Linked DNA regions of Homo sapiens: regions 1, 2 and 3 are each linked to region 4. Evidence: promoter capture Hi-C in human tissues and cell types (Jung and others, 2019). All regions are on one chromosome and are shown on one strand. Each heading gives the region's core, a stretch centred on a gene start or on the middle of the fragment in contact. The rest is flanking DNA. Distances are from core to core; before and after follow the strand shown.

The links. The method cuts DNA at HindIII sites, captures the fragments that hold promoters and counts their contacts. A contact is called where the count stands out against the background at its distance.
Region 1: a contact is called between a fragment that was not itself captured here and the fragment with the promoter of SH3D19 in region 4, in 2 of the 25 tissues and cell types used here (aorta and hippocampus).
Region 2: a fragment that was not itself captured here is called in contact with the fragment with the promoter of SH3D19 in region 4 in 2 of the 25 tissues and cell types used here (mesenchymal stem cells and mesendoderm cells).
Region 3: a fragment that was not itself captured here is called in contact with the fragment with the promoter of SH3D19 in region 4 in 2 of the 25 tissues and cell types used here (hippocampus and stomach).

Annotation. Positions count from the first base shown.
Region 1 is chr4:151,227,511-151,230,210 of GRCh38, reverse strand. The region is part of intron 1 of SH3D19 (SH3 domain containing 19); the gene reads left to right. Among named protein-coding and RNA genes, the nearest start is that of PRSS48, 48 kb to the left of the region's middle. The HindIII fragment of the contact is 5,786 bases long and covers 1-2,700 here.
Region 2 is chr4:151,438,251-151,440,950 of GRCh38, reverse strand. All of the region lies in intron 1 of FHIP1A (FHF complex subunit HOOK interacting protein 1A), which reads right to left. Among named protein-coding and RNA genes, the nearest start is that of FHIP1A, 30 kb to the right of the region's middle. The HindIII fragment of the contact is 5,665 bases long and covers 1-2,700 here.
Region 3 is chr4:151,206,417-151,209,116 of GRCh38, reverse strand. The region is part of intron 2 of SH3D19 (SH3 domain containing 19); the gene reads left to right. Among named protein-coding and RNA genes, the nearest start is that of PRSS48, 69 kb to the left of the region's middle. The HindIII fragment of the contact is 4,994 bases long and covers 1-2,700 here.
Region 4 is chr4:151,324,187-151,326,886 of GRCh38, reverse strand. SH3D19 (SH3 domain containing 19) reads left to right here and starts at 1,282. Exons shown (of 20, transcript NM_001378122.1): 1 at 1,282-1,646. The coding sequence starts at 1,535. The HindIII fragment of the contact is 31,894 bases long and covers 1-2,700 here.

The DNA of each region.
Region 1 (2,700 bases), core at 103-2,602, 97 kb after region 4:
GGGCCCATTTCTACGTAAGTGGCGTAACACCTAAATACATAAACATTGGAATCATATGTCTAGATTACATAGAACCAAGTTGACATGAAAGGAAAATGTGGATAATCTGGAGTTCTTACACAGAATCCTTGACCCATGATAGCATCCCACCACTCCCCTAACTGTTCTTCAGTCCCCTTGACATACCATGGGTTCCCCCATTGCATCCCTCACATCTCCCCCACAGCATTTATACACACACAACCAATAGTCTTTGTGCCAGCTCTGCCTTGTTTTTTGTTTTTGTTTTTGTTTTTGAGACAGAGTTTCACTCCGTCACCCAGGCTGGAATGCAGTGGCGTGATTTTGGCTCACTGCACCCTTCATCTCCCGAGCTCAAGTGATCCTCCCACCTCAGCCCGCAGAGTAGCTGGGATTACAGGCGTGCACCACCACGTCCAGCTAATTTTTTTGTACTTTTGGTAGAGATGCGGTTTTGCCATGTTGGCCAGGCTGGTCCCAAACTCCTGACCTCAGGTGATCCACCCACCTCGGCCTCCCAAAGTACTGGGATTACAGGTGTGAACCACTGCACCCAGCCTCTGCCTTGTTTTCTGTCTTTGTTCTACTTACAGAGTACTTTTCTATTCCTCAGTTAGCCTTATTAACCATGAGGCATGGATGAGAGGGACAGGGAATGGAAGAGCGGGGTGTGTGTGTGTATGTGTGTGTGTGATACATATCTATAAAACCATTACATGGTTACCCAGCCATGGTTACCCTCACACTGAGTATATACTGCTGGTCTTTGAGTGACCTAAACCATCATGCTCTGCTGGGCAGGCCCCTGGAATAAGTATATCATCCACAGCAAATGTGTAGCATTTGGCAAATTTTAGAGTTAAGGCATTTTATTTTTAATAACTCTTTTTTTCATAGAAATGATGAGACTTTGGGCTAGAAAGTTATTCATATGATTTCTAAATATGCAGAAGTTCAGAAAACCTTTAGAAATATTCTCCCCCAATTAATTTGAAAATTAGAAACTAAAAAATTGGAAGGCTGAGCACAGTGGCTCATGCCTGCAATCCCAACACTTTGGGAGGCCAAGGCAGGAGGATCGCTTGAGTCCCGAAGTTTGAGACCAGCCTGGACAAAATAGGGAGACCCTGTCTCTACAAAAAAAAAAAAAAAAATTTAATTAGCTAGGCGTGGTGGCATGTGCCTGTAATCCTAACTACTTCAACTACTTGGGAGGCTGAGATGGGAGGATCACTTGAGCTCAGGAGCTCAAGGCTGCAGTGAGCTGTGATTGCACCACTGCACTCCAGCCTGGAGTACAGAGCGAAACCTTGTCTCAAAAGAAAAAAAAAAAGAAAAGAAAAAATTCAGAGAATGTGCTGAAGAGTATTTGATTTAAAATAAAATCCATACACTTAAAGCACTATATATAGCCAAGATTAAATTTCCATGTTTGCTATAGATCTGTTCTCATTCTTGGGCTTTCATCCAAATGTTTTGTTATTGTTGGCAAGAAAGCAGATTCTGAATCCACCCTCAGTGATTTGTTTTGTTCAGTCTTGGCTTTTGGAACAAAATAATAACCACTTATTATTTTGCCAAAAAATTTATTTCTACTAATATATTTCTTGACAATTGCACAATAATCTTGACTATCATGAAAATTACTTTAAAATGTAAGTATATGAAAAAGTATAAGTATATAAGACACACAGATACGCAACACACACCCCATTATTTATATGTATTTAAGCTAAAAGATGGCTTTATGGCAAAATGTGAAATCCAAATATTTGTATACTTTGAGGGAAAAGATCAAGCCAAGAACATGTGTTTCAATTTGTTTTTCATGGTCAAGAGGTGAGGGATGGGAAATATTGTGAGTAATGGATAATTTACCCTTACCCTCAAATTATCAACTATGTGAATTCTTAGGAGTAACATTTTATAAGTACTGCGTATCTATATTTACACAGGAATGTAACACAGATAACACTAATAGTGAATTTGGGGGGAAAATTTTAAAATTTCCCCCAGCAGATAATCAAGTCTTTTGTTGAATTTTAATTACTGGTTCAATAGAAAAGTGCTATGAGAAGACATTTGTATTTTCTTAGAGCAGAAAGTATAAAAATGACTGTAGAATTTCCTGTTTTAACCAAGAACGAAGGAGAGCTGTGAGCCATTTGCTTCCTGAGTGGCCACATTCCAGCTGTGCAGACTGGTCATAGCACATCTGCCAATCAGAACAGGCCCTGGAGGGAAGCCCTTGGATACTGAGTCTTGTTTACATGCATCGTGACTCTGTTTCTCCCTTCCTCTTGTGTGTTGTACCACTAGGAAGATTAGTGGGGAAATTTGCTATTACATGCCTAAGTAAACTATGTAACTAGGATCACAGCCACAGGAAATGATGTTCTGGACAGAGTTTTAGCTCGGCTTTAGCCACAGGTAAGAGTTGTTGCTTTGTTATATGAGGATAGCTAATCTGTATTCAGTTTCTGGCTTTACTTTGAGACATTATACTTCATTTTTGTAGCGAAGCTAGCAGGCTAAAAACTGGAGAATGATTGAGAGAAATGATTTAAATGTGCCCTGCGTTACTATGACTTTAAAATCTTAATACTCATCAAATGAAAAACATGATATTTTCATTTAAGGGAGGGGTAAAACCAAGTTAAATTAAAACAGAAAAGTTTT
Region 2 (2,700 bases), core at 13-2,512, 110 kb before region 4:
CAGGACTGCATTCGGCGACACTAAGGAGGAGGCCTCAGCTGAGCAGATAACTGACAAGGGGCACTAGTGTGAGATGGAACTGGATGCCAAGCTGCAAAAACTGGGAATTTGCTTGGAAGCAATAAGGAATCTCCAATGGAACTAACATGACAGAGGAAGCATATCAGGCATACCCAACAGAAGCTATGATTTTGTAATAAATTTTGGTAACTTGAAGCAATTTCCTGGGCAGTTGGCCAGTTACCCCCAGTTCTCTGAGAAGATTCAGCTCCATCTACCTTGTGTGACACTGTACTGCTACTGTTTGTGTACCCAGGGCCATGATGGTGGTGACTATCCTAAATCCCCTTGAAAATCACTGAATTTTTCTGTTCTAGGTGTGGCTGCCAACTTCTCTAGGAGTTTGCTCTTGACAACATGGAGGTAGTGTCATTGGTGGAGATAAGAAAAATCATGAAAGATAGTTGCTTCAGAAAAGAACTGGAGATGACTAGCTACTAGAAATTGTCCAGTAGACAATTGAAAATCTATTTGTTTGTTCATCCAACAATATTTTTGAGCCCCTACTTGGCACCTACTATGTGTCAGGCACCTGAACAAAAAAGACAAAGACCCCTGCTTTCATGAAGCTTACTGACATGGTTTGGCTGTGTCCTCACCCAAATCTCATCTTGAATTGTAACACTCGTAATCCCCACATGTCATGAGAGGGACCCAGTGGGAGGTAACAGAATCATGGGGGCAGTTCCCCCCCATTCTGTTCTCATGATAGTGAGTGAGTTCTCACAAGATCTCATGGTTTTATAAGTGTCTGACACTTCCCCTGCTGGCACTCATTCTCTCTCCTGCTGCCCTGTGAATAGGTGTCTTCTGCCATGACTGTAAATTTCCTGAAGCCTCCCCAGCCATGCAGAACTGTGAGTCAATTAAACCTCTTTTCTTTATAAATGACCCAGTCTTGGGTATTTCTTCATAGCAATGTGAGAACGGACTAATACACTTACATTCAACATGGAGATAGAGACAATAAACGTAATAACTAAATACATTATACAGTATGTAAAAAGTGCTTTAGAAAAATACATAAAAGGAAGAACAAAGATTGCTAGTAATTTATAAGAAAACAACAACAAAAACTAAATGAAGCTAGGAGAAGTGATGAGTTCCCCAGAGAGTGGAGTGTTTGGTTAATGCCTTTTCCAGTTCTAAAATTCTAAAGGAATAACCCTAACATTCTTGCTTAAGCAGAAGGTAAGATCAAAGAGTCACAGAATTGTTGTGGCTTGAAAAGATATCAGAACTTGGAACTGTCATCTTACAGATGTCAACTTAGACCATCATGTTACAGAGGAGAAAATGTAGAACCACCAAATTTAAGAAACTTCATCTTAGAACAAAAGACAGCTGGGGCAGAAGGGGGAGTTCCAAAACTCTAGCTTTTCATTAACTTCTACTGAAAGCAGAAGCCCTTTCAGTTGCTTTGGAAGAGGCTCAAATCCTTCTAGGGGTAAGGTAATGAAAAAAAAAAACTTTTTAAAATTATACAAATAAATGGCTTAAGCCACATAATAGCAATAATAAAAACAGCAAACACTTATATAGCACTTACTTTGTGTCAGACACTATTCTAAATACTTGTCATAAATAATAAACTCCTTTAGTCCCCACAACAACCCTTCCCCAAGGAAGACTCTGGAGTCAGTCCTTTTAATGCCAAGCCATCCTCTTTTAATTATTTATGCATAACTTCATATAGCACAATCTTTATTGTTAATTAGGAAACTAGGTTCTAGATTTTTCATCTGAGTCTACCAGAATTGAAACATATTTATATGTGGAAAACGCAACCGTTTAAGCTTCATTTGAAGAAAACATGCTTTAAAATAAAAGAAAACTTGAAACTATATAATATAATCAGTATTATGCTGAGTACACGGGTGTTTCATTAATTCAATAAAGTGTCCTTAAAGATATGTTTTCAACTACATACTACTTCAAAAGACACTTTCAAGACCCTAACGTAACCTTTCTTTTTTAAACAAAATTCCGGAGGCTGAGGTGGGAGTATCACTTGAGGACAGAAGCTCACGCCCAGCCTGAGCAACACAGCAAGACCCCATTCTCTACAAAGAATTTTAAAAATTAGCCAGGTGCGGTGGTGTGTACTTGTAATCACAGCTACTAGGGAGGCTGAGGTGGGAGGATCACTTGAGCCCAGAAATTGGAGGCTGCAATGAGCTATGATCATGCCACCGCACTCCAGCCTGGGTAACAGGGCCAGATTCTTGTCTATTAGGTTGGTGAAAAGTAATCACAATTTTTGCCTTTAAAAAAAAAAAAAAAAAGGCAAAAACCGCAATTACTTTTGCACCAATCTAATATAAATAAATAAATAATTCTGGTGAGGTAGATTTTTTTGTTTTGTTTTGTTTTTTTGTTTTTTAGTTAAACAAATCCCATACTTTTGGTTTTCAGATGAGGGAAAGGGAGAGAGAAATACAATGAAAAGAATTAAATCCTTTTTCTGGTTAGTGTAGTGTGACAGGTGCCCCGCTAGGTTACTAGTATGTCCACTGCCTGAATCCTGCAGGCCAGGCAGTGAGCCAAGGCCATGGTGCCCGAACCAGAAACAGGTATTCCTGAGAACGCAAACATCTCGGAGAGTATCTAAGAACCTACCAAGGAAAATAGTCCCATTAC
Region 3 (2,700 bases), core at 167-2,666, 120 kb after region 4:
ACCTCAGTTTCCTCATCTATAAATGGAGCTAATTAAAGTACCTATCTCTTGGGGTTATTATAATTATTTAGTTGCTTTATCAGTCAGGGTTCAACCAGAGAAACAGGACCAGTAGGAGATGTATATTAAAGAGATTTACTGGCCGGGCATGGTGGCTCAAGCCTGTAATCCCAGCACTTTGGGAGGCTGAGGCGGGCGGATCACAAGGTCAGGAGATCAAGATCATCCTGGCTAACACGGTGAAACCCCGTCTCTACTAAAAATACAAAAAATTACCCGGGCGTGGTGGTGGGCGCCTGTAGTCCCAGCTACTCGGGAGGCTAAGGCAGGTGAATGGCGTGAACCCAGGAGACGGAGCTTGCAGTGAGCTGAGATCATGCCACTGCACTCCAGCCTGGGTGACAGAGCAAGACTCCATCTCAAAAAAAAAAAAAAGAGATTTCCTGGGGCCGGGCACAGTGGTGCATGCCTGTAATCCCAGCACTTTGGGAGGCCAAGGCAGGTGGATCACCTGAGGCCAGGAGTTGGAGACCAGCCTGACAAACATGGTGAAACCCCATTTCTACTAAATACAAAAAACTAGCCAGGTTTCGTGCCGCATGCCTGTAATCCCAGCTACCTAGGAGGCTGAGGCAGGAGAATCTCTTGAACTCAGGAGGCAGAGGTTGCAGTGAGCCAAGATTGCACCTTTGCACTCCAACCTGGGCAACAAGAGTGAAACTCCATCTTTAAAAAAAAGAGAGAGATAAAGATTTATTGCAGGGAAATATTTATGTGATTGTTGGAGCTGATTTAGGCAAGTCAGAATTTCGTAAGGCAGGCCATCAGGAAGGGCAGGCTGGAACTCTCACCCATGGAGTGAAGCTGCCATCCACAAGTGGAATTTCTTTTCATTATGGAAGCCTCAGCTCTGCTCTTAAGGCTTTTTAACTGATTAAATCAGGCCCACACAGATTTCATAGAATAATCTCCCATACTATACCCTGATAAAGTCCCATCAACTGGTGGACTTTAATCACACTGACATAATGCCTTTATAGTGACGTGTAAATTAATGTTTGATTAAATAACTGGAGACTGTAGCTTAGCCAAGTTGACACATCAAATTGATTATCACAGTTGCTTTGGACCTCAGTTAAGCAGGCTAAACCCACTTGGAAATGATTTTCAGTGTTATCTCTGCTTTTCAAGGTCAGGGCTCTTCAAGTCTCTGTAACCCAGAAGTTCTTTCTGACATATCAGTTTGATGTTTGTTAGTTTTGTCATAAGAAACTACAATTGCATTATTATTGTCCTAAAGAATTCTCTCAACTCAAGCCAGGGTGTGTGGTCATGGTGGGATTCTGTGAAGGAGCATAAGCCAGCATCTGCATAAACACCTTGATCCAGGCGGTATTTGCTCTTATACATTTGTGCTATCCCTTCGTGCTTGGAGAAGCACACTATTGTTACATATGCCTGCTTTGTATGAACTGGTAAAGTCTGGAGTTGATAGGAACTGTTGAGTAGTCCCACAGGCCTCTGTCATAGTGGCAAAATATTACCTTTGGCTACCTGAAGAAAAGATACAGATTTGGTCCTCTCTTTTCACTAGTGCTAATTTTTCCACACAGTGATCAACTTCCTTTAGGGAAGCTCATTGCATTTCTTTGAGCATAACCTAATCTCCTCTCATTCTGAATGCAGGATGTCTTCTTTGCCCTCTAACTCAAAGTAGGAAAAGATAGGCCACTCAGAAGTAAAATAGCTAATGGTAAAAGCATGATAAACTGTTAGGATACTTCCTGGTGGCCTTGGGTTTCAAGCTTTTACCAATCACTCTGGAAACAACTCCTGTAATTGTTCCTCTTGTAGATTCTCTAGGCCTGCATTTCAGTGTTTAGTTTTTTTCCATAGCTTTGAACGATGAGGTGGTGATGCACTGCTACTAAATCTTATCTCATGCATCCCTGAGAACTGCCTCCCAAGCCTCCAGTCTCAGCTGAAAGAAAGGCACCTATGGCCAGGTTTCCACGTGGTCCTACCCCATTTGGCCATAGCTGATAGAACTCTATCCTATAAGGTATGCTAATCAAGTTTTTTCTCATGAAAGTTTAAACTAAAAGACAGAGCTGACAGCCATGGTTTCTGGAGGTTTAAAATTATTTAGATTTGGGCTTGGTAGGATATGCATGCTGATGAACACTGGCCAGGTATGCCAGTGAATGAGCAGGGAGTTCAAGAGAAGACTGCAAAAACTGAAGCGGAGGTGATGTAGTCCCAAAGAGAAAGTGAGGAAGAATGAGAGCATGCACGAGAAGCTGCCTTGTTTCCCAGCACTGCCCAAAGTTCAGCTGCACTTCCTGTTCATACCCATTCCCAGGATACCTTTGTATGCTCATAATAAAAACCCCTTTAATTTAATTCAAGTTTAAAGGGGTTTCAGTTGTTTTAACCTCACAAGTCAATGCAATACCATTAGAGGAAATAATGATAACAATACCGTAATTTAGAAATGAAAGTCACATACCTAACATACTCATGTTGGTTTTAGGACTACCAAAACTATAGCCTTGATTCTAGAATTTATTTCCATATAGATTAGGGTGCCATGAATATATTGAGAAAATAGAGTAGGGTAGTACTTTACAGTATTTATGGAGAAACAAAAGCCATGCCATATAATATGTTGTATGAAGAGGGAAGTGTATTGCTTGTCTT
Region 4 (2,700 bases), core at 33-2,532:
GGGGTAGCTCACACAGCTAAGTGCTTCAAATTACAGTTTCTGACTCCAGAGCCAGTGGTCTCTCCACTTCCCCTAGTTGCCTCTCTACAAATAATCACGTATGGGTCTCTTTAACACATTTCTTCCTGTTCTTCTAGGAATTGTAGCCATATCCTAGCCCTAAATGAACTGGAATACAGTGAGGCTTGATTTATTATTAAACATTTTTATTAGACTTTTTTTTTTTTTCGAGAAGGACTCTCGCTCTGTTGCCCAGGCTGGAGTGCAGTGGTGCGATCTCCGTTCACTGCAAGCTCTGCCTCCTGGGTTCAGGCCAGTCTCTTGCCTCAGCCTCCCGAGTAGCTGGGACTACAGGCGCCCGCCACCACGCCTGGCTATTTTTTTTTTTTTTTGTATTTTTAGTAAAGACGGGGTTTCACCGTGTTAGCCAGGATGGTCTCGATATCCTGACCTCGTGATCTGCCCGCCTCGACCTCCCAAAGGGCTGGGATTACAGGCATGAGCCACCGCTTCCAGTCTTACTAGACTATTTTTAAGAACAGTTTTAGGTTCACAGCAAAATTGAGCTAAAGGTACAGAGATTTCCCATGTACCCCCTGCTCCCACACATGCATAGCCTCCCCCATTATCAACATCCCCCACCAGAGTGCCACAGTTGCTACAATTGATGAACCCACATTGACACCTCATAATCACCCAAAGTCTATAGTTTACATTGCGGTTCACTCTTGGTTTTGTACATTCTTTGGGCTTGGACAAAGGCATCCGCTATTACAGAATCATACGCATAGTAGTTTCACTGCCCTAAAAATCCTCTGTGCTCCCGCAAGTCTAGGTTTTTAAGGGCGAAAAGAGAGGGAAAGAAAAAAGTGTGCATTGCAGAGGCTCGACCCAACTCCAAGCCAAGTTTGTTCCAAAGTTCAGCAGCTCCCAGCTGTCCCATCTCTCCCAGTTCGGCCCCGGTCGGGTTCCTCCTCTTTTTGTTTAAGTGTCAAACAAATGGGTTTCCTGTTGACACTGGAATATCGTGAAAAGGCAGGAAGAGGCCAGGCCACCTCCTCTTTCCCCTCTTCCTATCCCGTTTATTTATTTTGCACACGTTTGTTTGGGTCGAGCTGGTGTTTCCAGCGTGTGTGGCTGTGGGGCGGCCTTAGGGGCCGATAACCCCTCCCTGAGGAGGCGAGGCCAGCCCCGAACCCGCCCGATCCGCGGTGGAGCTCTACGGGGCGGGGAAGGCAAAGAGGAAGGGGGAAGAGAGCGGGAGTGGGAGTGGGAAAGGCCAGGGATTAAGAGGCCGCCGGGACGCCGCAAGGAGGCGGGGAATCGGCTCGGCCCGCGCCCTGCCGCTGCCCGGCCGGCTGCAGGTGGAGTTCGCGGAGGTGGCCATTTCCACAGCCGCCGCCGACGCCTCCTCTCCGGGAGCCGCCTTCCCCCCGGCCCGAGGGCGGTGGCGTGGGGCGCCGGGTGCAGGCGTTCTGGGGCGCCGGGGCCGCAGCTCGCTGGCCATCCCGCGGCTGCGCCCCGCGCCTCGCCCATGGCTGAGGGCCGGCGGCGGGAGGACGAGGAGGAAGAGCTACGCGAGCGCCGCGAACTTGGTGGCCAGCGCCGCGCCCGGGGCCGTGCGCTCTCGGGCCACTCGGCCGCAGGTGAGAGGCGCGGGGGACGGGGCGGCGGGGACCCAGAGCTGCGCGCTCTGGGGCCGCTCGGGTCCTGCCCCACACAGCGGCAGCTCCTTCACGCGCCGGGATGGGACCGGCTTCTTTAACTCTCAGAGGCCAGACTCGGGGAGGGTGGCATTTCCATCGCCATCCTCACTTTCCGGCCGAGCCCGAGGAAATTCAGACCCGTCTTTAACTGCTAGTGGTCGTACAGCTGAAACTCAAATTTTCCGTGCACACTAAATCCAGGAGCTGCTGGCTTGGGACTTGTGGCCTGGTTGATGACTTATCTCTGGATGAGTCAGAGGTCAATGGCCGTCTCGGTGGACAACGACACCTTCCGAGGGGTTTGCCTGCGCCGCCGCAGCCAGGTCAGAGCACGTGCTCATAACTGAGGCAAGTCCTGTTTCGGCGTCCCTTGCACTTCGGACCTGTGACCCCCCTCCCTCCCTCCCCCAGCCGCCGAGCTCACCAGTTTTCTGTAGGACTTGTTTTCGTTAGTTGTGAGACCCTCCCCCACGCAAAGAGAAGTCCAGAATATAGCATTCCAAAAGGCCATTCATTTGGGCTGAGAATCATTTTCGGGCCTGTAATTACTTTTATGATACTGTGTTTTGGGTACACAAAAGCGGCACGGATCAAATAGTTTGGCACATTAGTGAAAGAGTGAATAAGTGTAGATCCACACCCCTTCCCTCTTCCGGGCGGCTTTTCAATCAAACATAATAGAGAGGACATTCTTTGGCCTTTGGTTCCAACTGGGTAATCCGAGTTATCTGAAAACAAGAGGGAAGAACAAACCTAGGGGGACTGGCAACAAAAGGGAGATAGGGAAGTGAGAGAGTCGGAGGAGAACGATTCACTGAGAGCCTCATTATAAAGTGGAATATAGCGAATATTCCATGAAGTGGAGAAGCTTTTCTGTGTGACTCCCTTAACCACTAAGAGAAAGTTGGAAAAATAGAGAAGATATTGTATCTGTGCGGAACAAATGGAGGGTAGAAAGTAGGATGAAAGGAAAACTTGAGAAGAACATCTTGAA